Linked DNA regions of Homo sapiens: all the other regions are linked to region 5. The links are contacts of gene promoters, found by promoter capture Hi-C in blood cells and fetal thymus (Javierre and others, 2016). All regions are on one chromosome and are shown on one strand. Each heading gives the region's core, a stretch centred on a gene start or on the middle of the fragment in contact. The rest is flanking DNA. Distances are from core to core; before and after follow the strand shown.

Region 1 (4,010 bases), core at 1,455-3,954, 290 kb before region 5:
CTCCCTTCTTCCCCCTCCACATTCCCCTTCCCTGCTCAACTCTCTAAAAGACCTGCAGCTATTAAGAAATTTCCAGTCTGGGCTGATGAGGCTAGATGGGGGTGGCTGCCTGGGTTGAACACCTACCGTCTGCCCGCCTCTGAATGCAGCGATGGTACACACAGCCCCATTCAGTCCCTGCAACAGGCCTCTGGCATCCTGGCATTACCGATGAGAAACTTCAGCTTTACAGAGAAGTTCAAAGAGGTTAGATGTTCAGCTCATGCTTTTAAGGTCGGTAGCTGGAAATCAAATGCAGGTTTTCCCGATTGCTTGGCCTGAGCTCTTAATGCCTTCTTGGATTTCTTTGTGGCTATTGGGACAGGCTGGCCTCAGTGTTGATGGGCAGGTAAGGGTACCCAGCCAGTCCTAGCTTCACTAAGTTGCCGCTCTGCCTACCTCCTGCGTGTGCTTCCCTAGTGGGGCTGTCCCACTTTTGGAGTGGGGACGGGGCTGATCTGTGTCCTAATCCATAACAGGCCTAATGGAGCTGAGACCTGGCACTGCAGGAGCGGAGGCTTTGGGGTCAGTCAGGTGGAAGAAGGAGAGGAGCATGGGGCATGCCCCATCCTCCAGATGTCTGTTCTTCTAGTGGACTTCACTTTGGCCTTTCAGTAGCTCTCCATCTGAATGTGGCAGTTGTCTCAGGAATTTTGTCCTAGCATTATCTGACTTTATTGCTCTTATAGAAAATGCTGGTTCCCCAGAAATAATAGCTGGTCTGTGGTGAGTGAGGTTGGGTCATTGTGCCTTGAGGTGTGACATCTTCTTTGGCTTAGTCAGGTCTTTGGCTTGACTACAAATGTCTGCGCCTTTTCCTCACATCTCAGATTCTTGCAGCCAGGCTCTGTCCGCCATGCCCTGTTGCTCCTTACTGTTGGAGAGACCTGGAGGTTGGTGGAGTTCTCCAAGGCTGGAGTTGGGGTACACAATGAGGCCGAGATGTTTTGCATAGTTCCTTCCATTGCCCCGATCAGGAATGTGTTCCCGCAGGATGGGTTATGGCCTGGAAGTGAGCCTAATGTAAACATCCTTGCAGAGGCCATCCTCTTAATCAAATAGAAATGGTTTGAGGGATGAGCAACTTGGGGGTGGGGGAGATAGGAAAGGAAGAGTTGGGGGAGGGGAGAGATTTAGGGATTGAACTCAGAGAGAGCTGTCTGGGGGCCATCCTTCCAGCAGTCCTGACAGAAAACTGGCTTCATGGAGTTGGTGCAGTGCAAACTGGAATGATTCTCTTAGGGAACTTGGTTCTCTCAGACAGTGTGGTATGTTGAGGGAAAGGAAGGAAATCATGGTTTGGCTGAACAGCTGGGCAGAGCAGCAAGGGAAACTGAAGTATGTTAGAAGAGCAGGACCGGAGGATAGAGCAGACGGGGGCCACAGGAGGACTTCTGGAAGGAGCCCACAATTCAACTCCTTTGAGGGCCTTCAACATCTATTTAACGTTGTAACATTTTGAAATTCTATTTTGAGGGGACTAGACTCTCAGAGAAGGGGCGTGAAGAATGTGGGGGACTTAGGTGCAAATGTGTGTGCTGGGGGGCGGTATTTAGGGCTCTTGGTGGAGCCCCTCATGTCATGGAGAAGCGAACCCTTTCCACTGTGCCCCCACCCCCTTTTCCTAGCCCTATGAAGGGCTCAGACTTTCTTGGAGATGTGGAGCATTTCAGCCAGACCCTACGGTCAAAGATCAGTCACAGAGCAGTCTTCTGTGGCAACCTGTGCACAGTCCCCCAAGGCAGCAATCTGGGGTCACCAGGGAAGTTACTGTTACTAATCTGACCTGGGAAGTTTTCTTTTTCGTAGGGGAATCTAGAAATACTCCAGGGAAAGCCACGGCCAAGCCTTTGCCCAGCCAGTAAACTTTTAGGGCTTTTGCGTGAGGTTGGTTTAGAAGAATTTGCCGATGCCAAGGCTGCTATGTTGGTTTCACTGATGCAGATTTAAAGAAGGAGGGCCAGTGAGACCTCGGGAATAGGAAGGCAGAGGAAACCTTTCTATTCTGATGTCTTCAAGTCTTGGTGCTTGAATGTGCCAAGGAGAGTGAGGATGTAAATAATTTAGTTTGCCTTCAGGATGCAGGATCTAATCTAAACATGATTAAGCTGATTTGATTTTATAGATTGGAATTTATAAGTGATAGAAACTGATGAGGTTAATGTGAAATATTTACGTAATAAAAAGCTTCATTACCTGATGCTGAAGGGTAGAGGGAGAAAATATTCTTGGCAACATGTTTAATCTTTTGGAAATGAAGTTGGGTTAAAGTTTTCTTTGTAAAAACTGAATTCTGTGATCTTGTTTTTACACATGCTGTGCTTAAATATTAACACCAATTGAGCAAATTGCCTTTTAACTGCCTTTATTTGCTTTCATTAACAGTATAATTTAAAAGCTCAAGAATTTGCATGGAACCTGTTGTGCATGTTGGGGGGAAAACTATTCATAAATTAATTAATCGTGAGAACATTATCTTTAAGGAAGGTCACAAAACATGAGCATGATTTCCAAAAAGCAGTGACATGTTTTTGCCGTTTCTTGGGGACGTGATGTACTTTTGGCTTAGAGATCTGTGCTGCGTGTGTGTGTGTGTGTGTGTGTGTGCACGCGCGAGATAACTTGGCTGGATCAAGAAAAATTTTAATGACTGGGCATGTTTTAAGTTAAGTTGAGTGAACCTAATTACACTGTAGTTTCCAGAGAGCTAAAGGCAATAATACCATTGGTATTTAAGCACTAGTTTGAAAATTAAAGCCAACCTATATAATTGGCTGTGCTCCTTAGATGGTTTATTTCTTTCTTCCCTCCATTTCTGAAATCCCCCTTTTCTTTCTCTTTCACATTTAAACCAATAGAGAGAAAGAGAGAAACTGCCTAGCGCTGCGAACCACAAGACGGTCCTTCCAGTGGGGAACATTAACTGCATTGTCCTCTCATGAAATGACGCTAAATAATGTTAAAGGTTTCCAGTATGATTTCACTGAAATTGGTTGCTTCCTTCTGTACAGATGTTTTTGTGGTTTAGAACCTCAGCCAAGGCAAACATTATGAATGAGATGCAGAGACCACCATGTCCTATGAAGGGCTGAGAGTTCCTTTGGGAGTTATTTTACTTGTGATTCTGACACCTCTGTTTTGACAAAGCTTCATTCTTTCAGTCTCTTCTTTCCGTCTCCCTCTCCTGGTGCTATTGGTTTGTTGTGGGTGGTTTTCCTAATTAAGTTAATCTGCAACCTAGTTTTTCTGGGTCCACAGATGCCAGAATGCTGAATTTATTTATCTTGAATGTTTTTGTTGGCTACTGTTGAGACACATTCTTCCTCTTCCCCTTTTACCCCAAGTCTGTTTTAAACATTTTTTTTTTGAGGCTTCCAGACGCACTTCAATAAAGAAAGAATTTCTCTCTGGTGTCCATTTGTCAATTTTTTTGTGGGGGATGTATATTGTAAATAATATAATAGATATGTAAAAGGTTGTAAATAAAACCCAAAGGTTATAGAGGAAAAGATGTGTAAATTTGACTACATCAAAAATTTAAAACTTTTTGCATGATTTTCTTTCGGATTTTTGCCTTTTCCTTGCACATTTGTTGGTTCTCTTTCGATATAAATCAGAAAAATGAATCTTTTATCTGTCAAATGCATGGCAAAGATTCTTCCCAGTCTATCATTTGTCCTACAGTTTTGATTATGGTTCCTTTCATCACAGAACATTTCTATTATTTATTTAACTAAAAAATGTCACAATGATGTCTGTAGCGTAGATTTTATAAAGCATCTGATGGTCATATTTTATAATCTAAATTTTGGAAAAGTATTTGGATAATGAGAGATGGAGAAGGTAGAGGGAGAGCAAGGGAGGGATAGAGAGGGCACGAAGATGAGGAAGGGAGGGATGAGGAAGAGGAGAAAGACTGGTGAGAATGAATGATGTTAAAAGATTGATTTTTCTTCCTGTAAAAAAGTTGG
Region 2 (3,551 bases), core at 457-2,956, 260 kb before region 5:
AACAGGAAGTGACTTGCAGAAGTCCTTTTTTATCTGAAATGCCAGGGAGGATGGACTCTTATTCAGCCTAGCTTCTATTCAGCTCAAAGGAAAGAACATCTGCCTTTTTCCCACATCTTCTCTGTACCCCTCACTTCCTTCTTGTGGGGGAGATTCCTTTTCTTCGGTGAGTTCCCTTTGCGGTGTGGAATCTCGTGGCAAGGGCTCTGAGTAAAGGAGGAGGGTTGCATGGAATGCCATTGAATTCATTAGGCTTGGACTCTAGCAGGAATGTTGCCTGGGGTGCTGATGTCCTTCTCAACCTTCCTTTGCTGGAGTCCTTCTTGTAACTTGTCTTCCTTTTGTGAACAACCTGGGTGTAGTTTTTAAAATAAGCGAATTCTCCTAGAAGTGTTAAAAATGAGCCTTCAAGTACTATCTCGGCATTTTGCAAAGGTTAAAGCCCCCACTGTTTGGGGGCTGAGGGTGCTCTATGGGGGGCCACCCAAAAGCAACTGTGGAAACAGAGTCTGGCTTCAGTCTCTCCAGATGTTGTGCACATAAGGGAGGGACTCTTGAGCTCATAGATCACAGATCTGTCCACAGGCTGTCAGTAGGAAAGAGCATCTTATTTTACAGATGGGGAAACTGAGGCCTAGAGAGCATAAGTGGTTCATGCAAGATCTTACAGAGAGTTTGTGAGAGTCTGAGAGCTGTTCCCCCTACTATTGCAACATTTGGAATGTTCTGAGGTTCTTACCTTCTATTATCAGTTTGAGGGCTGTAGATGAGTTGTGGTAGCTACAGAGATGAGCTTTCCAGTGTGCCCCCACCAAGAGATGAATGAAAGTCATCATCGGGCAGATCACTGCCTACTAAAAGGGGTGGGTTTTTTTGGGGGGAGGTTTTACTCTTCGTCACAGAACTTGAGAATATTTCTACTGAGGATGACTTTGTCTTTGGGGCTTCCATTTTATTTTTAAGATTCAAGTGTAGTTTTAACTGCAGGGCATTAGCTCCCTTGTAGGTCACCTCGTGCTGTCTCTGGGGTTTATGACTGAGCTCTCATTCCTTAGTCACATGTCCTATACTCACACTTCCTATCCCATTTTCCTGCCTCACCAAGATCACCACAATGATCCCAGGTTCTATATAGCATTTCTTTTCTGGAGGTCTTTAAAAATATTCTGGGAGATCTGTCTGGAATGCTTGAGTACATTCATTTATTCCTGTATGCATAGAGGGCCCAGGGACCTCCCAGGCTCTCTGAGCCCTCTGATTCTTAGAGGGTTAAACTATTATGGAAACAGACATTGCATCTGTGTCTTCTCTTGTTTCCTGCATGCAGCAGTGACCTTTGGAGTACATTGTTCAGGAGACCGACCCTTTTCTACCATTTGAAGTCTGCTATTCTCATCTCTCTACCAAAAGAGAAACTAAACTTCATTGTCGTGATTAAGGTCACAGCCAACAGCAGTTAAAGAAGCCGTTGGTCTTCCCACTCATACCGCTGCCCTCTCCCTAGCTCTCAGGAGGAAGAGCTCTCCAAAATGGAAGTGTCTTGGGAAAGAAATGGAAGTGGAAAGAGAAAGATGAAAAGGCCACCAATGGCACTTCCCGTGTCTCAGCCTCACCAGAGAAGGAACTTGGCCACACACTGGTTGGGTATACCAAAGTGACACAATGTGGATGTTCCAGTGGCAATTAAGTATTTATATGACTAGACTTGAGGAGTTCCAGGCCATGACACTTCCAAATCCTTCCAGCCCGCTTGTGGAGAGAGGCCCGGAGGCTTCCAGCGAGACAATTAGAGTGTGAATTAGATTGTGTCTTCTGGAAGGGAGATGAAGTTACCTGCCTACTCTATTACAGTTTATTTCATTAAGGTTGACCATGCCCTTTTTTTTGGGCAGAGGGAATAGGATGGATTCTCTGGAGAAAACAGTGTAGCAAGGCAATGGAGAAATGTCCACACTGGAGTAAGGGGCTTTCTGGGACCTGGATGGAGTCTCCTTCCTCCCCTAGGGAATAGGACAGAGGTGGGAAAGGTGCTGCCTGACTGCTCTGTGCACATCTGCATGTTGGTGATGAGTGTGGCCAGCCCCATGCTGTGCATCGGTGAGAGGACCGCTCAGGCAGGTGTTGCTGTGCTGGCAGCTTCTTAGGAAGGCAAGGAGCAAGGCGTGGGCTGTGGGGCCCTTGGGGCAGAGCCTGTCATGGAGTGGGATGAAAGGGTGCACGGGACCTGTTGGCAGCCCCAGCGGCCAGGCTCTGTTCCCAAGCTGGAGAGAGAGGCAAGTGGTGAGGGAGGGCAGGAGGACCAGTCATGGGTTTAATGCAAAATGACAGTTACGGGGGTTGCCATTTTAGAGTAAAACAGGCCATGTGACTGAGGAGCAGGTAGCATTCATATTATTCATATTTCGAGCTTGGTAGATGTAGAATTTTGCAGTGGAGGCCAGGAGAGGATGTGAGAGCTGCAGGACAGAGGCATAGGTTTTTGGAGGTGGTTGTGGTGTTCCCCGATGGCAATCAACTTCACGGAGAGAAGAGGTTATTTTCTACTTAGGTTGCCTGGAGCCTACATTCCAAACTTTTAGTCCTCTTCATCTAGCACTAAGTTTTGCATCTCCCTTATTCCTGTCATACATTATTAGTGTGCACTGTTTTAAAGTCTTTTACATACATATGTCTTGCATTCCCTACTTAATTGTAAGCTCCTTGAAGGCATTGCCTGTGTATTATGTTTCTTTGAATCTCTCTGTGGTGGCTAATGCTCTGCCCTGCATTTAGTAGGCAATAAGTTTGTGTTGAGTTTTGAGTCAACTACCACTCTTTTCTCCCTTCCTCTTTTTTAATTTTTTTTTAAATTATTTTTTATTTTTTATTTGACACAGAGTCTTGCTCGGTTGCCCAGGCTGGAGTGCAGTGGTGCGATCTCGGATCACTGCAACCTCTGTCTCCCGAGTTCAAGAGATTTTCCTGCCTCAGCCTCCTGAGTAGCTGGGATTACAGGCATGCACCACCATGCCCAGCTAATTTTTGTATTTTTAGTAGAGATGGGGTTTCACCATGTTGGCCAGGCTGGTCTCGAACTCCTGACCTCAAGTGATCCACCCGCTTCTGCCTCCCAAAGCGCTGGGATTACAGGCGTGAGCCACTGTGCCTGGCCTACTCCCTTCCTCTTACAAGGCTCCTTACTCATTTCCTGCGTCTCACCTGCTCTCTCAGCCCAGTTTTCTAAAAAAAGAGGTAAGAGATGGATGCCAGTCTCTTTCTCCTCCAGAGTGATTTTGTGAGGATTTGTACAATGCAAGTCTTGAGATGCAAATGGACATCTAGGAACAGAGGAATTGCTGGAGCATGGAGACCACACTTCTGAAGATGGAAGGAGACCCTTCTCCAGGCTGTCGCTTTTGATTTGCGGTTTTCCCATTGCCAATTGCTCACACTGATCCCCAGTCCTGAAGGGGATGGGGGCTGCCGCTAATTCCCTGGCATCTCATGACTTCCTGTTTTCCTCCAGTTATTATTTTTATTGTACTTCCTTCCTGCTTCTTCACTCTCCGGCT
Region 3 (3,998 bases), core at 1,422-3,921, 510 kb before region 5:
TCATGATGAATCTGAATGATCTAGTTATGAGCTTATCTGAAGAACATAATGAAAATATTTTGAACGTTATGTGTTAGCACTTGAATACTTTTTAATTTTAATTTTAACTATGTTTTTTGGTAGAGACAGGGTCTTCCTATGTTGCCTAGGTTAGTCTTGAACTCCTGGCCTCCAATGATCCTTCCACCTCTGCCTCCCAGAGTGCTGGAATTACAGGCATGAGCCACTGTGCCAGCCAAGTTTTTTTTGTTTGCTTTTTTTTTTTTTTTTTTTTTGACGGAGTCTCGCTCTGTCGCCCAGGATGGAGTGCAGTGGCGCAATCTCGGCTCACTGCAAGCTCTGCCTCCCGGGTTCACGCCATTCTCCTGCCTCAGCCACACGAGTAGCTGGGACTACAGGTGCCGGCCAACACGCCCGGCTAATTTTTTGTATTTTTAGTAGAGACAGGGTTTCACCATGTTAGCCAGGATGGTCTCGATTTCCTGACCTCGTAATCCACCCGCCTCGGCCTCCCAAAGTGCTGGAATTACAGGTGTGAGCCACCGCACCCAGCCTGGCCAAGTTTTAATTATTAAATTTAAAGAAAAAAACTAAATATGCATTGCTCAAACTGGAAAGAGTAAAGAGCCACTTTTCTATCACTTTGAGGACACTACTGAATAAGCATACACATTCAGAGCAGATTCTGGGGATTGCCAGAGGGATTTCTTGGAACAAAATTTGTTTAACAAACATGACACTTTTGTATCATATGAGAAAAGCTATGACATATCTCTTGCCTTTTCTACCCATGTACACAGGTGTCTTATTCCATTTGTGTTGCTGTAACAGAAATGCCACAGACATGGTTACTTATAGAGAAAAGAAATTTATTTCTGACAGTTCTGGAAGTTTTTGTCCAAGGTTGAGGTGTTGGCATTTTGTGAGGGTCTTCTTGCTGAGTCATCTCATGGCAGAAGGCAAAAATTAAAAGGAGCTCACATGAGAGCAAGAGTGGACAAGAGGGGCTTACCTTGCTTTTTATCAGGAACCCACTCTTGTGAAAATGCCATTAATCCATTCATAAGGGCAGAACCCTCATGGCCTAATCACTGTCACTCAGGCTGGAGTGCAGTGGCCCAATCTCACTGCAACCTCTGCCTGCCAGGCTCAAGTGAGGTTCCCACCTCAGCCTCCCAAGTGGCTGGGACCACAGGTGTGTGCCACTACATCTAGCTATTTTTTTTTGTATTTTTTTGTACACATAGGGTTCACCATATTGCCCAGGTTGGTCTTGAACTCCTGGGCTCAAGCGACCCACCTGCCTTGGCCTCCCAAAGTACTGGAATTACAGATGTGAGCCACTGCACCTAGCCTGTCCCATCTGGGTGAGCCACTGCACCCAGCCATTACCATCACAATGGCAATTAAATTTCAACCTGAGTTTTGGAGGGGACATTCAAACCATAGCAAGATGTTGGGGGTCTCTGTGTTGGTTTTCATAAAAACTAAAAATCTAGGCCAGGCACGGTGGCTCACGCCTGTAATCCCAGCACTTTGGGAGGCCGAGGCGAATGGATCACCTGAGGTCAGGAGTTTGAGACCAGTCTGGCCAACATGGAGAAACCCTGACCAACATGGCGAAACCCTGTCTCTACTAAAAACCCAAAAATTAGCCAGGCATGGTGGTGTGTGCCTGTAATCCCAGCTACTAAGGAGGCTGAGGCAGGAGAATCACTTGAACCCGGGAGGTGTAGGTTGCAGTGAGTGGAGATCACTCCGTTGCACTCCACCCGGGGCAACAAGAGTGAAACTCTGTCAAAAAAACAAAAACAAAAACAAAAAAACCCTAAAAATCTAAGCCACTTTATTGATATAATGCCTCATCTGTGTCTTGAACTCCTGGCCTCAAGCAGTCCTCCTGCCTTGGCCTCCTGACGTAAGTGCTGGGATTACAGGCATGCGCTACCATGTCCAGCTGAGACCTCATCTTCATCTTTAACTGAGCTATAAAGAGCTTATTTTCCCTTTTCTAAATGACAGATTGAAAATAGTTTTGTTGGGCCAGGCACAGTGGCTCAAGCCTATAGTCCCAGCACTTTGGGAGGCCGAGGGGGGGCGGATCACGAGGTCAGGAGTTCAAGACCAGCTGGGCCAACATGGTGAAACCCCGTCTCTACCAAAAATACAAAATTTAGCTGGGCGTGGTGGCACACACCTCCAATCCCAGCTACTCAGGAGGCTGAGACAGGAGAATTGCTTGAACCTGGAAGACAGAGGTTGTAGTGAGCAAAGATCGAGCCACTGCACTCTAGCCTAAGCAACAAAGTGAGACTCTGTCTCAGGAAAAAAAAAAAAAGAAGAAAGAAAGAAAAAGAAAGAAAATAGCTTTGTTCTCACAAAATAATTGAAATTTTTTGTTTGTTTGTTTTTGTTTTTGTTTTTTTGAGACAGAGTTTCATTCTGTCGCCCAGGCTGGAGTGCAGTGGTACAATCTTGGCTCACTCCAACCTCTGCCTCCCAGGCTCAAGTGATTCTCATGCCTCAGCCCCGCGAGGAGCAGGGACTACAGGCATGTGCCACCACGCATGACTAATTTTTGTTTTTTCATTTTTTGTTTTTGAGACAGAGTCTCGTTCTGTCACCCAGGCTGGAGTGCGGCTCACTGCAGCCTCTACCTCCCGGGTTCAAGTGATTCTCGTGCCTCAGCCTCCTGTGTTGCTGGGACTACAGGCCTGCACCAACACGCCCAGCTAATTTTTGTATTTTTAGTAGAGATTGGGTTTCACCATGTTGGGCAGGCAGGTTTCAAACTCCTGACCTCAAGTGATCTGCCCACCTTGGCCTCCCACAGTGCTGGGATTACAGGTGTGAGCCACCACGCCCGGTCTAACTTTTTTTCTGAGACAGAGTCTTGCTTTGTTGCCAGGCTGGAGTGCAGTGGCGCGATCTCAGCTCACTGCAACCTCCACCTCCTGGTTCAAGTGATTTCCCTGCCTCAGCCTCTCAAGTAGCTGGGATTACAAGCACACACCACCACGCTCAGCTACTTTTTGTATTTGTAGTAGAGACAGGGTTTCACCATGCTGGCCAGGATGGTCTGGATCCCCCGACCTTGTGATCCGCCCCCCTCGACTTCCCAAAATGCTGGGATTACAGGTGTGAGCCACCACACCCAGCCAAACTCAGCTTTTAATTGTTGGTTAATCGCTCTCTGTTTTTCTTTATCTTTTTCCTGAGTTCAAGTCAACTCAATAGCCATACCCACTCAATTCCACTGTTTTTTTTTTTTTTTTTTTTTTTTTTGGAAACAGAGTCTCGCTCTGTCGCCCAGGCTGGAGTGCTGTGGTGCGATCTCGGCTCACTGCAAGCTCCGCCTCCCAGGTTCATGCCATTCTCCTGCCTCAGCCTCCTGAGTAGCTGGGACTACAGGCGACAGCCAACACACCCGGCTAATTTTTTTTGTATTTTTAGTAGAGATGGGGTTTCACGTGTTAGCCAGGATGGTCTCGATCTCCTGACCTCATGATCTGCCCACTTTGGCCTCTCAAAGTGCTGGGATTACAGGCGTGAGCCACCGCGCCCGCCCCTGGGTCCCATCTTATACCATAATGTCAGAATCTATAGAGATGGGACCCAGGTCATTTAAAAATACTCGATGAGCCTCATGTGCTGCCATGCTTGCAGATTACTTGCTTAGACATCACAGCAGTATAACTTAGACTTCAGATTTTAAAATTTCATATTTTATTCTTAAAATATGTGGTCAAGATAGGAACCATGTGACTCTGGTAAAATTATGGCAAAGTCATCAACAAATATTTGGGGAAAGAGCTTTTTCCAGGAGGCGTAATATTTTTTTTCTTTCTTTGAGATGGAGTCTTGCACTGTTGCCCAGGCTGTAGTATAGTGGTGCGATCTCGGCTCACTGCAACCTCCACCTACTGGGCTTAAGTGATTCTCCCGCCTCAGCCTCCCAAGTAGCTGGGACTACAGGCAGGCGCCACCATGCCCGGTTA
Region 4 (3,622 bases), core at 624-3,123, 380 kb before region 5:
CAGGGGAATTGCTTGAACCTGGGAAGTTTAGTGGGGGTTGCAGTACACTCCAGCCTGGGCGACAGAGACTCTGTCTAAAAAAAAAAAAAAATAGAAGACAGAAGGCGAGAGTGAGAAGACGAAGTTGTGACTGGTAAACCTAAAATGGCCATAGACAATTATTTAGTTGACTTTGGTGCCAATGGTCATCTACTTGTGGAAATCCCTGTGGCTGTGGACTTGTAACCAGGTAGAAAGGCTTCTTGTCCATGTTGCTGCTTCCAGACAGCACAGTATCTAACTCAGCCTGCCACAGCCTCCTCATCTTGCCTGCCCTTTTGTTGAAACACCCTTGTTCCTCATCTGTGCCATCAACAAGTGTTGATTAGGCACCTACTGTGTGCAGAGTGCCAGCAATAATAAAACACACTCACTTCCCTCTAAAGCAGAGGGGTCCAATATTTGGCTTCCCTGATTACACTGGAAGAAGAAGAATTATCTTGGGCCACACCTAAAATACACTAACGCTAATGATAGCTGACAAGCTAAAAACAAAAAAAAATCCTCCCAAAATCTCATAATGTTTTAAGAAAGTTTACGAATTTGTGTCAGGCTGCGTTCAAAGCTGTCCTGGGCCACATGCGGCCCATAGGCTGTGGATCGGGCAAGCTTGCTCTAAAGTATTACAGGCTGGTAGCCCGGGAGGAAAAGTGTGTTCTGGCACCAAAGACAACCCATGTCTCTCACCTGGAGATGCACTGGTAACTGAATGACTGTGGGGCATGGGCGTGGCCCTGGGGGATCTTTAGACTTTTGTGAGAAAGAGAGGAGGAGAGAGGTGGGTAGCCACATGCACATGGGTGGGCTGCAGACCCCCAAATCTCCTGGAAGACACGGACAAGACAGGTGACATGGCTGCTAATTTTATGCTTCAGCACCTGGCTCTCCCCAGTCATTAGGGGACAACTACATCCCACGGGCAATGGGAACCCAGAAACCTAGAACCCCAAGGCAGGCTTGGGCCTCAGATCTTCACCTCAAGCGTCCATCCTTCTGCCTCGGGGCAGGACTGCTCTCGAACAACCCCTAAGTCTGCTCTCTTCGCTAATGTTCTTCAGAACCTTCTCAGTTTGAGTGCTTCTAACTACATAAAAAACCATTAAAGTAGCTACTATTTATTATCTACCTCATGCCAGGCACTGTGCTATGCATGCTGCTTAGCACACCTATTATCTGTTCAATCCTCATCATAGCAAGGAAGGAGCAAGCTATTCATCTTTGTGTTTACAAGTGAGAAAAACTGAGGCTGATGGAGGGCGAGCAACTTACCCGTGGGCACACGAGAAGGAGCAGGTCCAGAATATCAGCTTGGTTCTGATTTCAAAGGTCTTTCCACAATAAGCTACTAAGGATTCTCCTATATTCACCACTTGTTCATTTGTTCAGTTAACATATATTTTACTTTTATTTATTTATTTATTTATTTATTTATTTTTTATTTTTGAGGTGGAGTCTCACTCTGTCACCTGGCTGGAGTGCAGTGGCGCAATCTCGGCTCACTGCAACCTCTACCTCCTGGATTCAAGCGGTTCTCCTGCCTCAGCCTCCCGAGGAGCTGGGATTACGGGTGCCTGCCACCACGCCTGGCTAATTTTTGTATTTTTAGTAGAGACAGGGTTTCACCATGTTGGCCAGGGCTGGTCTCGAACTCCTGACCTCAAGTGATCCTCCCACCTCGGCCTCCCAAAGTGCTGGGATTACACGCGTGAGCCACTGCATCCGGCCTCAGTTAGCATATATTTTTGAGCACCTACTATGTGCCAGGCATTGTGCTGGGCACTATAGCTGAACTGAGTTCCTTCTGCTTCAGTATAAGCTAGCTATTTCTTATCCTTCTTATTAGGGAAAAAGATAAAAGTGGACTAATGAGTGATTTCCTCCATTATTTAGGGAGTTGAGTCAAATAAGGTAACACGAAAAACCTGAAAAAATGGTTTTGGGTCCTTGATTCTTTCTGTCTGTTGCTCCCGTGCATCTCTCCACCAGTTGGGAGAAAGATCAGCGTTATCTCTGAATGTATGGGAGAGCCAGGGGAAGGTCTTCAAGGGCTGGGACAAGCAAGTATCCTGCAGGGCCCACTCCTGGTGCCTGGAGGTATGTGAGATGTAACTTTATCCAAGTTTATCTAGATATCCCTCAACTAAGGGGTGTCCTCAGTCCCTTCCCTTCCCCCATTCTACACACACACACACACACACACACACACACACACACACGCATCTGTTCTGATATGGTCTAGGAGCTCCATCAAGGGCAATCTCGATTGACCCAGAATCATGGGTCCTTTGGTGCTGGGGACACGTCACAGGTTTGCCCTGCTATCTGCTGCTGGGGAAAGTTTTGCATTACCTTTCCTCTGACACTACCACTTAAGGGCTGCTGTTGGTCATCAAGAAACCCCAGGGGCTGCTGAATAACTAGGGGTAAAAATAAGGAAGTCAAGAGGGGACAAAATGGCAGATGTGTTTCTCTTAATGCCACAAAGACCTGCAGAACTGGGACTTGTTAAAGAAGACTCTGAGTGTGTCATTGTTATGGAAGCAGGCTGGCTTGGCCATGGACTGTCTTACAGGCTTTTGGAGTTGGCCTGGGAAGAGGGCATGGTGGGCCTTGGTTAGACTGCCATTTCCACACTTGCTGTCTGCTGAGGATGGCTCCTCTCTATGCTGGATGGACCCAGGAGGGGACAAATCAATGAACTTTCTGGTGATTGACAGTTCACCCCTCCCTAGGCTGCCTGGTTCCTAAATTAAGGGGACAAGATTGCTCAGGATCCCACTGATGGGTTAAAAGTCTTCCTTCCCTTCCTGTAGAACAGTGATCAACTTCCCCCTAGGCTCTTAAAAATTATAAAATTCAAAGGGAGGCAGTGGAGATCCTGGCGGCCATGACTGTGCTGTAAGAAAGGCATTTAAGGGGAAAGGCTCAGTAAAGGGCTTTAATAAAGGAACCTCTCTCTGGAGAACGAAGCTCAGCTGATGAACTGAACAGAAGATGCTCTTGGCATTAGGCCTTTTGGAAATGTCTGTTGCTGTAAGCCCCAGATCCTGGATTCTATGGAAGCTTAGAAAAGACAAAGAACTGTGGGTTGGTTGTATGTGGACACTCATTGCAATGCCTTTGCTTCTGTGCCTAGAGCGCTTGACTCCATTTATTTATTAAATAGCCATGTATGAGGCACCTAATATATGGCACGTGCTAAACAGCTAGCCTGTTCCCTCAGGCTCTGATGTGTCAACTCTGTAAACTTTCTCCCAGGAGGAGGGACTTGGGAACTTGTGTCTAACTTCGTTCTCCCTGTCTGGCTCTCTGTATTTATGTTTCTCACTCTCCACATCTCACTACAAAACTGGTGAGATCTGAATAAAGTCTGTGCTTGAGTAATGGCATTGTGCCAATGTTAATGTCCTGGTTTTGATAACTGTGTTATGGTTATGTAAGATGCCAACTTCAGGGCAAGCTGGGTGAACAGTATGTGGGAATTCTCTGTACTATTTTTTCAATGTTTCTGTAAGTCTAAAATTAGTTCCAAATAAGTTAAAAGTCTCCCTAAGAGTCTTGTCAACTCTCCTTTTCCATCTCT
Region 5 (3,481 bases), core at 187-2,686:
TGCAACCAGTACTTATGTTTATTACTGTACCTAATAAACAGCCCAGCGTGGTGATTCCTATTCACTTAGTAGCCTCCCCATCTAGAATATACTCCGTGATCTTTCTTGATGGCCAGACTGTGTAAAATTCATACAGTGTTTACTACAGGGATCCCCAAATATTGTTAGTTGAATGAACAAACACACATTTCAAGGAGGGCACTACAGTGAGTAGATGAACAGTTTTCTGATAGGAGATTGTACAAGTAATGTTTTCACCAGTGTATTTTAGGACAGCAGATTCAGATTAATGCGCTGGGACTGAATGCAAATAGTAAAATTACAAATATAAAGTAAAAATTTGGAACCTTTGCCAAAGAAAGGAATAATAAATTGATTTAATAATTTGAAAGAACTGTAAGGTTTAGGTTTTGTTCTTATTTTTAGTGCGACTGAGATTGGAGTCTGTTTGTAGACATATCTGAAAAAAGTGAAGGGGGAGATGGAAGATGGTAAATGCCAAGGAAAAGATGGAAGGATAAATCAGTGTAATAAAAAGGAGCACTTCTTTTTCGCCAACAGAAGTAAAGGTAAAGGTTAAGTGTCTGAGTTAACGAATGGATTGTTGACCTCTGGGGAGGGTGCTCCCATCAGCTCAGCTTTGTGACGACCTAAGAATATCCCTTCCACACCTTTCCTGATCCAATCGTTCTGGCTGCATAAAACCACCTAAATCAATCAACTGTTACACTTCCCTTAGTGCTAGGACATATTCATATAACTCCCACGTATTAAATGAAAATACATCCATCTAAAAATAAAACAACACGATTGCTGCTACACCAAGAAAGGATTTTAAAAAGGCCTGTTCACAAGCTAAGTGAGGGCCAGAGGAAAGGTGTTCGTTTAAACTGAAATTCGAGCTGCGATAACACCTCCTAATGCAATCAAACGCTGTTGCAGCACACTTCTTAGGAGATCGGGTTCAACGGCAGGGATTGGGTAAGGTGAGAATCTGGCTTGGCGGCTCCGGCCCCGGCCATCTGGTTCCCTTGGGCTCCGGCCGCCACCATCCACTCGACGGCTCTCGGCCCGAACGCTTGGTCGCACCGCCTGCCGAGGTCCTAGATGAATCGCTTCAGGCCTGGAAACGAGGAAGCCGTCTCCGGAGACCATCGCCAACGCTGACGCCCGCGGTCTGAGGTCGCCATGGGAAGAGCGGTAGGCCACCCTGCTCCTCTGATCACCGGAGGACAGGGACACATTGTTCAGGGCCATATTCAAACACTGCCCGCAGTACTTGCGTTACGTCCCTTTGTGAAGGCAGGCCCTTCGCGGCTCCCCAGATCAGTCCAGCCTGTGTCGGACCCGATGACTAAGCACACAGGAACCCATAACTGAGCCTGCGGAAGAGCCAGAAGCCGCCTTGCCTTTAACGAGGGGTATCCTGGCGAGCATGCGCAGACCGTCCGCGCACGTCGTCGCCCGCTGAGAGCAAGCGCAACGGGCGTTTTCGTTTGTGACGCCAGGGAGCGTGAGGACGTGGGGCTTCCGTGAATGCGCAGTGGGTGCGTCGGCCACGACCTTTTGGCCAGGTTAGGGAGGGGGCGACGCTGAGATGGGGGCGGCGGCGGCGGAAGCGGATCGCACTCTCTTTGTGGGCAACCTTGAAACGAAAGTGACCGAGGAGCTCCTTTTCGAGCTTTTCCACCAGGTAAGCGGCTGGGTTCGGCCCTTTGCCTTTCGTTTTCCGTCTCGCCTAGGGCCTGGCCAGCGGCCACCCCGTTTTCTTTTCGTAGCCGTCAGGGGACCCGACGGGTGGCTGTTTGGGGGTGAAAGGCGGGTCTGGGTTGCGAAACGCTCGCTGGGTGTCGCTTTCCTGGAAGATCTTGGTTCGTTTAGGCCGAAAGTGACGACTAAAGGTGGTGGAGGGATCCTCGATCAGGTTTCCCGTGGTAGAGATCCAGGGGTCCTTGGGAACACAGTGTGTGTGTAGGGTCTTCGTTGAGCAGTGCTTTTTCTTATCCTTCCTGTTGTCATCTTCCCCTTAGGATAATTTGTCTTTGGTTTATCTGACTGGGAACTTAATATTTTAATTTATTTGTGTCTGTTTTCCCCTAAAGTTTGCTTATCAAATTGCAGCATTATTAAAATATGTAAAATAAAATGGTTAAGTACTCCGTAGAAAAACAGCATTTTAGTGTTGCTGTATTAAAAAGTGTGAAAAATTCTGAGTATCCTATTCCCCCCATCCCTATCCCCTAATAACTGGTATTGTTTGATTAATCAATACAAAAGTCCGTTTTTAGTTAAAGAAAATCATTCTCTTGTTCTTGATAAATGTTCATTTTCATGGAGTGGCAAAATAATGGCGATTGGTCACTATGTTAAGCCATACAGTGCTGTGAATTGCAAAAGTGATTGTGTTTCCAGTTCCTTATGGGCCCCCTTCCCCAAATAAATCTAATGTTCAGTCATAACTAGGATGTTTACTGTAGCCAAAATGGAAATCCGTGCATCATTTTCAAAAGAAGTTTCTGATTACGTTTCTGTTGTTTTTAAACTTTGTCATATCTTATTTGTAAAATTTGAGTATTTTCCCTTAGTTGCTTTATTTAAATTCTAAACACCTTTTTGTTTGTAGGCTGGGCCAGTAATAAAGGTGAAAATTCCAAAAGATAAGGATGGTAAACCAAAGCAGTTTGCGTTTGTGAATTTCAAACATGAAGTGTCTGTTCCTTATGCAATGAATCTACTTAATGGAATCAAACTTTATGGAAGGCCTATCAAAATTCAATTTAGATCAGGTAACTGCCCAATGAGGTTCGGGGGGCATTGTTTCCTGCTGTTTTTAAATTTATTATTCAGTTTTAAAGAACCTCTTATTTGTAGATGAAACTTCTTTCTTAAGCATTGTGAATAGTAAACTTTATATAGCAAACTTTATATATCCCTGAAAACGGGTAACATTGACACATGGATTTTGAAATTAGAATTTCAAAACTGAGCTTAAAGTTTCATTTTGGGTTAGTGAAAAAACATAAACTGTATCACTAAGAGAGCTGGGCTTGGGTACTCTGAAAAGAGCTAGGTTTATTTTCTGAAAATACTTCTCCTGGCTGCTTTGTAATTACTTTTATATATTTTGGTTCTTGATCATGTGAGGATGAAACTGTCCATGTATCCAGTGTTACAATTTAGGGTGGAGATCAGAAAATTATGGTCAGATTGGATATTTATGGAGTGCTTTGTTTTGCTTATCTGATATTATACACTTATAATTTTCACCCCGATGAAGCCGTAAAGCGGTCTACAGCAGCTTGAGATTCTTTTTTTTTTTTTTTTTTTTTTTTTTTTTTTTTTTTTTTGAGATGGAGTCTTGCCCTGTTGCCTAGGCTGGAGTGCAGTGGTGCAATTTCAGCTCACTGCAACCTCTGCCTCCCAGGTTCAAGTGATTCTCCTGCCTTAGCCTCCTGAGTAGCTGGGATTACAGGTGCACGCC
Region 6 (3,716 bases), core at 550-3,049, 420 kb before region 5:
CCAGAGTCAGGATGGAACACAAGATCCTGCTCTTTCACCAAGCCTGCCTGGTCCCGCAGGACTGGCGATCCTGGGAGCCAAGCTTTGCCCAGCCCAGGGCAGTGACGGGTTGGGGCCACTGGGCACGCTTCCTACTGTCCATGGCTTTTGGGCCCATGGGTTTTCCTCCCTGCCTTGTGTGGCCAGGAGCCAGGGGAATAAAGGAGAAATGCCCATGACTGCTTGAAAACTAGCCTTGACAACGGCAGGTCAGGAAGCCTAAGATAGGAAGGTTGGAAAAACCGAGGCCAGGCAAAACATCCAGGTTATCCGGCTGCCTATACCCTCCCCGAACTTCACTCCCTACCCAGTTGTTCCAAGATCTTCAGGCACCCAGAGCTTGCCCTGTCTCTTGAGCTCCCAAACTAACCCCTTTTCCCCCGCCAGCGTGGATGTGGGGAAGTCTCCAAATATCCCGTACGTGTATATTCGGCATCAAGGCGAAGTTCAGAACTACAAGCCCCTTCAGGTGGTGACTGCCTGTAGCCTCGACATCTACAACTTCCCCTTCGATGTCCAGAACTGCTCGCTGACCTTCACCAGTTGGCTGCACACCAGTGAGTATGTGGGCTTCGCCGGGACAGGGGTGGAGGTTGGGGGACCCCAGGGACACCTGAGCGAGGAGTGCTCCCCAGGGCGCCTTCTCACGTATCCAGCCTACTAATGCCCTGGGCCTCTGCTTCCTCATCCTCTGCATGAGGTAGATCTGCTGCTCTTGCTGCCCCAACAGTAAGAGTTAAACACTTTTATCAGTAGAAACTTCATATAGCACAGTATATTTTTCCAGATCCTTCTCTACACATTTACATTCACACATTCATGTGTGCGTATATATACACACATACACATCTATGGAAAGTACATGGAAATTGCTTTATGAGTTCTTATTTTACATTAATATATCAGTATTCAATGAGGGTGTGAACTGACGGCAAGACGCTCAGTAAGGGACAATTTTTTTCCAATATCTCCAACAGGATCTGGCACTAAGCATCTCTCAGATCCATTTATTTCACTTCACCCCCATGCAAACCACCCTCGTCTCCTGCCTAGGTTTCTGCTTTAGCCTCCTAGCTGGTTTCCCCATGCATTCGTGTCCCCCTAAATTTGCGATTCTCACAGAAGCCAGTGAGATTTTAGTAAAATGCGAATCTGACCGTGTCACTTAAAACCCCTCAATGGGATCCCAGATACCCTGGAACACAATCCACCCTCTTGAGCTGACTGCCACAGCCAGCTGCTCCAGGCTCATCTGCTCCTCTGAGCTCTGCTCCCACCCAGCTGCCTTCCTTTCTAGCCCCAAACCCTCATATTCTTTCCCTTTATCACATGTTGTTTCCTCTCCTATGCTACCTGGCCCTTTCCTCCCTCTCCCAACTTGCCCCACAGCTGCTCCCCCCAACCACACCTAGCCTGGCCAACCCCTCTACTCACCCTTCTGATGGCAGCATAAGTTTCAGCTCCTCAGTTTACCCTCTCATCCCCTAGACTAGGCCATCCCTGTTGCCCAATTTATAGCATCCTGGTCCTCTCCCCACCTCTGTCACCCTTGTAAGTACTTATTCAATGTGTCCTTCTCTCCTAGATATAAACTTAGAAAGGGGCGGGTGCAGTGGCTCACAAATGTAGTCCCAGCAGTTTGGGAGGCCAAGGCAGGAGGATTGCTTCAGCCCAGGAGTTTGAGGCCAGTCTGAGCAACATAATGAGACCCTATAAAAATAAAAAGTAAAAAAAACTTGGAAAGGGCAGGGACATGATTTCTCGCCCACCTTTAGATCCCCAGCACAGGGCCTGGCACAGAGGAAGGGTCTCAGCAAATGTTACCGAGCAGATGAATGCTAGCTAAGGGCTTGCCAGAGGGCTGGTGAAATGCACACCACCCTGTTGCAAGAAGGCATCCCCCAGGCCGGGCGCGGTGGCTCACGCCTGTAATCCCAGCACTTTGGGAGGCGTAGGCAGGTGGATCACGAGGTCATGAGATTGAGACCATCCTGGCCAACATGGTGAAACCCCGTCTCTATTAAAAATACAAAAAATTAGCCAGGTGCAGTGGCAGGCGCCTGTAATCCCAACTACTCAGGAGACTGAGGCTGGAGAATCACTTCAACTCGGAGGGTGGAGGTTGCAGTGAGCCGAGGTTGCACCACTGCACTCCAGCCTGGGTGACAAGTCTGACTGAGACTCCGTCTCAAAAAAGAAAAAAAAAAGGCATCCCCCACTTCTGTTCTGATGTATTCATTACCTTAAACTTAAGTTATGACGGTGATGCATGACTGCCTTGACCAAAACCAGAACTACAGATAAGGCTAACGTCTGCTTTGACTTCTACCCTCAATCCCAAACTTCACCAACAACAGGAGTTAACCACTTTTATCAGTAGAAACTTCATCTAGCACAGTATATTTTTCCAAATCCTTCTCTACACATTTACATACACACATACACATCTATGGAAACTACATGGAAATTGCTTTACGAGTTCGTATTTTAGATGAATATATCAGTATATATATTATTATATACTACTACTTGATTCTTTTTACCCAACATTAGGTCTTGGACATTTTTTGGAGTTCATGCACATTTAGGTCTTCCTCAAAAATTTTAGCTGCTATAAAATAGCTCATGATTTTGGAAGGCAGCTGTGCTCACCACTACCACAAATGCAAACATCTAATGATTTTGGTTGCATCCTAGCTTATTAAGCATTTTCTGATTGATGGATATTTCAGTATTTTCCAATATTTTGCTGCAATAGATACTTCTGTCGTTCCTGGTACATATGTCTCTGCTGCAGATCTTGAGAAGTGGAATTACAATCTATAAGTGAGGATTTTGCTTATTTTCTTAATTCACTTTTAAAGATAGGCAGTTCCATCAAGGCAAAGGTGAAGAATGTTGACTTTTGTTCATTGTTGCAATGGGCAATTCTAACAGGGAAAGCTAGAAAGCTGTTTGGAAGGGGTGTGTGTGTGTGTGTGTTTGTGTGTGTGTGTGTGAAGGAGAGAGAGCGCTTTCTAATGAATGGTTTGCATGGTTCTTTGCACCGTGCATTTTCATTTAGGACTTCATCTGCCCTCAGTGCGGCCCTGTGAGATAGGTATGGTGAGTACCTTATTTTATAGCTGAGGACACTGAGGCTGAAGGTGATGTGCTGAGGTTGAGGTTGGGCCATCGGATATCAGCTCCCCTTAATTGCTGCCCACCTGTGTCCCATCATCACAGGGTCCAGCAGGCTCTGGGTACTAGATTCCAAAGCTGGCTTGCTTTATTCTCTCTCAGTCCAGGACATCAACATCTCTTTGTGGCGCTTGCCAGAAAAGGTGAAATCCGACAGGAGTGTCTTCATGAACCAGGGAGAGTGGGAGTTGCTGGGGGTGCTGCCCTACTTTCGGGAGTTCAGCATGGAAAGCAGTAACTACTATGCAGAAATGAAGTTCTATGTGAGTGGGAGTGAATGTGGGTAAAATGGTGAATAAAGCTTCACATCCAGGTAGACTTAAGGAGGCATACTGGGAGAACTTCTATAGCCTTTTTCCAACCCCAGGGTTGCACACATCTGGAACTTCAGTGAAGTAGATGGAGAAACTCCATGAATGTCCCTTACTTATTCTAAACAGCCATAAGCCTGGATTGAGAGGCAGGGTATGGGGGTCTGTCTGTTTTCTTCTCTGAGC
Region 7 (3,962 bases), core at 594-3,093, 350 kb before region 5:
TATGTTGCTGTTATTGCTGGGTTATGAGCTACAGGAGGATTTCAACTTTACTGCTCCCTAGTCCCCCTTGTTTGTGACCTCAAATTTTATTACCCAGCTTCACCACCCTCTTGAGATATTGGTGCTAGTTTTGAAAATCAAATCTTCCCTCTATGGGCAAGACATGCCATGACTGAAGATTTTAAAAAAAATTAATGCTATGTACTTGGAAGGCAATACCAAAAGATCTCCAAGAATGGCTGAATGGCTTCCATGACATCCTCATGATGGCCCCAAACTGGCTCTGGTCCCAAGTCCTGGCTCTCATTGGCCGTATGGCTTTGGGAATGCTGTGCCACCTCTCTGTTCTGCTTCCTCTCTTGTAAAATGGTGAGATTGGACTGATGCAGGGCAGGTGAACTCCAACCTGGGGCTTAGCCCATGAGGGTCATTGGTTTCATCCAGGAAAGAATTCAAGGGCAAGCTGAGGTAGAAGAAAACAGCTGTACTGAAGCAGCCGTGTTACAGCTCCAGTGGTGCTAAGCTCTGTGACTGCTCCTGCAGACCAGAGCCGCTCCATAGGCAGAGAGCAGCAGCTCAGGGCAGCTTTGCAGTCATATTTATACCTACTTTTAATTACATGCAGATTAGGGGTGGTTTATGCAGAAGTTTCCAGGGAAGGGGTAGTAACTTTTGGGTCAGCAGTTCATTGCCAAGGAAAGGGGCAGTAACTCCCAAGTATTGCCATGGCAATGGTAAACTGACATGGCACACAGGTGGGCTGTGTTATGGAGAGCTGCTTCTGCCCGTCTGTGTTTTAGCTAGCCCTCAATCTGGTCTGGTGTCTGAGCCCCGCCTCTGGAGTCGAGTCCCACCACTCACCTTAGGACTAGTTGATATTTCAAGTCTCTTTTGCTTCTAAGAGTCTATCTGGCATTTTGAAGAGGGCAACTATTTTGAAGAGGGCAAACTCTTGCATGCTTACGGAAAAGTGAACTGCCTTGTCTTCTAGTTATACCTAATGTATACGAATAGGCATGAGTGCCTGGTGAGTACTCATTTAGAAATGAACATAACAGCTTTACCAGTCTATCTATTTTTCATATTAACCCACCGCCCCATTTCCTCTCCTCAACCTAGAGGAAAGAAAAAGAGGCTGGGCGTGGTGGTTCACGCCTGTAATCCCAGCTCTTTGGGAGGCTGAGGCAGGCAGATCCCCTGAGGTCAGGAGTTTGAGATCAGTCTGGCCAATATAGTGAAACCCTGTCTCCACTAAAAATACAAAAATTAGCCAGGGATGGTGGTGCATGCCTGTAGTCCCAGCTACTCGGGCGGCTGAGGAAGAAGAATCACTTGAACCTGGGAGGTGGAGGCTGCAGTGAGCCGAGATCACGCCACTGCACTCCAGTCTGGGCGACAGAGTGAGACTCTGTCAAAAAAAAAAAAAAAATCAAAGAGAGAAATGTTGGGTGTCCTCTGTTATATTTGGTAGGGGAAAGGAAGGGGCATGGCAGGAAAGCCAGAAAAGAGACCTAGGAGCATCTCCATATTCAGAAATAATTCATCAGCCAGAGTTTTTTTTTTCTCTTTGCCATATATTTATCAGCCTGACGCTAAGTTATCCAGCAGAAATTTGCAGGGCAATGGCCAGCCTCTAGTTGTTAGCTAGTTGACCAGGACCATGTATATTTAGCTTAATTATACCAGGAACCTGGAGTCACAGAGGGCTGAAGTACAGTGGTGTGATCGTAGCTCACTGCAACCTCAAACTCCTGGGCTCAACTGATTCTCCCACCTTAGCCTCCCAAGTAGCTGGGACTACAGGCGCGCTACTATGCCTGGCTAATTTACATATATATATATTTTTTGTAGAGACAGGGTTTTGCCATGTTGCCCAGGCTAGTCTCAAACTCTGGAGCTCAAGTGATCTGCCTGCCTTGGCCTCCTGAAGTGTTGAGATTACAGGCGTGAGCCATGAGCCCGGCCCCATCTCCTTCCCTTCTCTTGATGCAGGACCAAATGCCTCTGCCATCAGGAATGGAAATTAATCCAAAGAGGAAGTATAAGGACAAGCAGTCCAGGCATGGAGTCTGTGGGAGCTGGCTGCTCTTTAGCTTTGTGGCCTCAGGAAGGCTGCTTTATCTCTCTGTCTCATTTTCTTCAGCTGTAAAATGGGTTTGACAACAGTCCACAACTCATGGGATTATTTGGATAAGTAAAGGAGATGACACATGTCAAGAGCCAGAGCCTGACACCGAGTGAGTCCTCAACCTGTGTTAGCCATAGGTTATTCCCTCATAAGCAGTATTCAATAAATGTCATGGCCAAGATAAATGGAAGGTATGGTTTAAATTTGTTTATACCTATCAAATCAATATTCATTCTACATAAACAACGGAGTTTATCAAGCTGCTGGCAGGGGCCCCTCCAAGAGACTGTAGGAAATTGCTCAGCCAGACAATGGTTACTCTGTTACCTTTGACCCAGGCAGGCTCTGTGTGGTGCTTGTCCTCCCAAACACCTCCCCCTCCCCCATCCTCTTTCATTTTGGGAAACAACAGTAACACAAGGCCTCCCACCACCTGCCCTTCCTGATTCCAGCCTTGCTTATTAAACAGTAACCTTCCTGAGGGCAGAATTATTTTTTGACTGCAGATTTCCCCCAGTGCCAGCCCAAAGGTACCCTCGGATTTTTAACAAAGCAGCAACACAAGCACCCTAGGGCTGGGTGGTGGACTTTTTTTCTTCTCAGAGATTTTCAGAGACCAAACTGTTCAGAAAAGCAAAACAAGCTGCCCACATTCAGGGAACTGCCATCTCTGCCAATTCGTGATTAATCAACAGGGAAGAAGGTTGGTTCCTTGAAGGAAAATAAAAGAAATACGGACTGGAAGGGGGAAAGTCACGGAGAGTGGTGGATCTGGGATAGACAGCTTCCTTAACACTTCCTCCTTCCGTGTAGCCCTCTGTGACTCCAAGTTCCCGGTATAATTATGCTAAATATATGTGGTCTTGGTCAACCAGCTAACAGCTAGGGGGTAGCTGCTGTCCCTGCAAATTTTGCCTGGATAACTTAGCAGCTGGCTGACAAATATATGGCAAAGAGAAAAAATTCTGGCTGGCAAATGATTTCTGAACATGCAGGCACCCCTAGAAAATCTCTTTTCCAGCCGGGTGCGGTGGCTCAGGCCTGTAATCCCAGCATTTTGGGAGGCCGAGGCGGGTGGATTGTGTGAGGTCAGCAGTTTGAGATCAGCCTGGCCAACATAGTGAAACCCTGTCTCTACTAAAAATACAAAAACTTAGCTAGGCGTGGTGGTGGATGCCTGTAATCCCAGCTACTCCGGAGGCTGAGGCAGGAGAATCGCTTGAACCCGGGAGGTGGAGGTTGCAGTGAGCTGAGATCGTGCCATTGCACTCCAGCCTGGGCAAAAAAAGAAAAAAAAAAAAAAAGAAAGAAAGAAATCTCTTTTCCAGCTTTCCTGCCATGTGTTTTCTTTTCCTCTGCCCAAATGGAACAGAGCACACCCAACATTTCTCTATTCACCCAGCACAAGCCATCTCTCACCCCAGATTGGTAGGCTGGAGCCTCCCAGCATGGCCAAAGTGAACACTCACATGCTTGCCTTTCTTGTCGAGAAGAGATGCAGGCTGAACCGAGGTGGGTAGATGGGAGCCTGTAGTCTGTGCCTGCGTCACCCTGGGCGTCTCTACAGACCCCCCTGGTCTTGTAAGTGTAATGCTAAAGGTTAATAATAATCACAACAGGCAGCCCATCATTGCCTCCCTGTCTGGCTGAGAGGTTTACAACTTAAACTCATGGCAGAGGGAGAAATTGGCTCAATCACTTGGAGTAATGGTACATGGAGAGCCAGTTGGGCATGACTGCTATTTAACTCAAGGAAACCAGGCTGCTGCGCTTAACGTACGTACACACTAATAAACATGTCATGCTACGAGGTGAAAATTACCACCACCCCCTG

The links. The method cuts DNA at HindIII sites, captures the fragments that hold promoters and counts their contacts. A CHiCAGO score of 5 or more calls a contact.
Region 1: a contact is called between a fragment that was not itself captured here and the fragment with the promoter of C11orf71 in region 5, in 1 of 17 cell types (fetal thymus). The highest score is 5.2, in fetal thymus.
Region 2: a fragment that was not itself captured here is called in contact with the fragment with the promoter of C11orf71 in region 5 in 2 of 17 cell types (naive CD8 T cells and activated CD4 T cells); the score reaches 5.1 in naive CD8 T cells.
Region 3: a contact is called between a fragment that was not itself captured here and the fragment with the promoter of C11orf71 in region 5, in 1 of 17 cell types (total B cells). The highest score is 5.5, in total B cells.
Region 4: a fragment that was not itself captured here is called in contact with the fragment with the promoter of C11orf71 in region 5 in 1 of 17 cell types (naive CD4 T cells); the score reaches 5.1 in naive CD4 T cells.
Region 6: a contact is called between a fragment that was not itself captured here and the fragment with the promoter of C11orf71 in region 5, in 1 of 17 cell types (naive B cells). The highest score is 5.4, in naive B cells.
Region 7: a contact is called between a fragment that was not itself captured here and the fragment with the promoter of C11orf71 in region 5, in 1 of 17 cell types (activated CD4 T cells). The highest score is 5.1, in activated CD4 T cells.

What each region holds. Positions count from the first base shown.
Region 1 is chr11:114,108,536-114,112,545 of GRCh38, forward strand. The region is part of intron 2 of ZBTB16 (zinc finger and BTB domain containing 16); the gene reads left to right. Among named protein-coding and RNA genes, the nearest start is that of ZBTB16, 51 kb to the left of the region's middle. RefSeq lists a silencer at 2,698-2,898. The HindIII fragment of the contact is 960 bases long and covers 2,225-3,184 here.
Region 2 is chr11:114,135,840-114,139,390 of GRCh38, forward strand. The region is part of intron 2 of ZBTB16 (zinc finger and BTB domain containing 16); the gene reads left to right. Among named protein-coding and RNA genes, the nearest start is that of ZBTB16, 78 kb to the left of the region's middle. The HindIII fragment of the contact is 5,674 bases long and covers 1-3,551 here.
Region 3 is chr11:113,888,294-113,892,291 of GRCh38, forward strand. No RefSeq gene overlaps it. Among named protein-coding and RNA genes, the nearest start is that of HTR3B, 15 kb to the right of the region's middle. The HindIII fragment of the contact is 7,574 bases long and covers 1-3,998 here.
Region 4 is chr11:114,022,258-114,025,879 of GRCh38, forward strand. No RefSeq gene overlaps it. Among named protein-coding and RNA genes, the nearest start is that of ZBTB16, 36 kb to the right of the region's middle. The HindIII fragment of the contact is 2,454 bases long and covers 647-3,100 here.
Region 5 is chr11:114,399,075-114,402,555 of GRCh38, forward strand. C11orf71 (chromosome 11 open reading frame 71) reads right to left here and starts at 1,437. Exons shown (of 1, transcript NM_001271562.2): 1 at 1-1,437. The coding sequence starts at 1,257. The coding sequence ends at 886. RBM7 (RNA binding motif protein 7) reads left to right here and starts at 1,592. Exons shown (of 5, transcript NM_001286045.2): 1 at 1,592-1,693; 2 at 2,624-2,786. The coding sequence starts at 1,598. RefSeq lists enhancers at 679-1,221, 935-1,324, 1,222-1,764. The HindIII fragment of the contact is 8,162 bases long and covers 1-3,481 here.
Region 6 is chr11:113,982,694-113,986,409 of GRCh38, forward strand. HTR3A (5-hydroxytryptamine receptor 3A) reads left to right here. Exons shown (of 9, transcript NM_000869.6): 5 at 427-596; 6 at 3,322-3,482. Among named protein-coding and RNA genes, the nearest start is that of HTR3A, 9.4 kb to the left of the region's middle. The HindIII fragment of the contact is 3,438 bases long and covers 81-3,518 here.
Region 7 is chr11:114,046,780-114,050,741 of GRCh38, forward strand. No RefSeq gene overlaps it. Among named protein-coding and RNA genes, the nearest start is that of ZBTB16, 11 kb to the right of the region's middle. The HindIII fragment of the contact is 8,900 bases long and covers 1-3,962 here.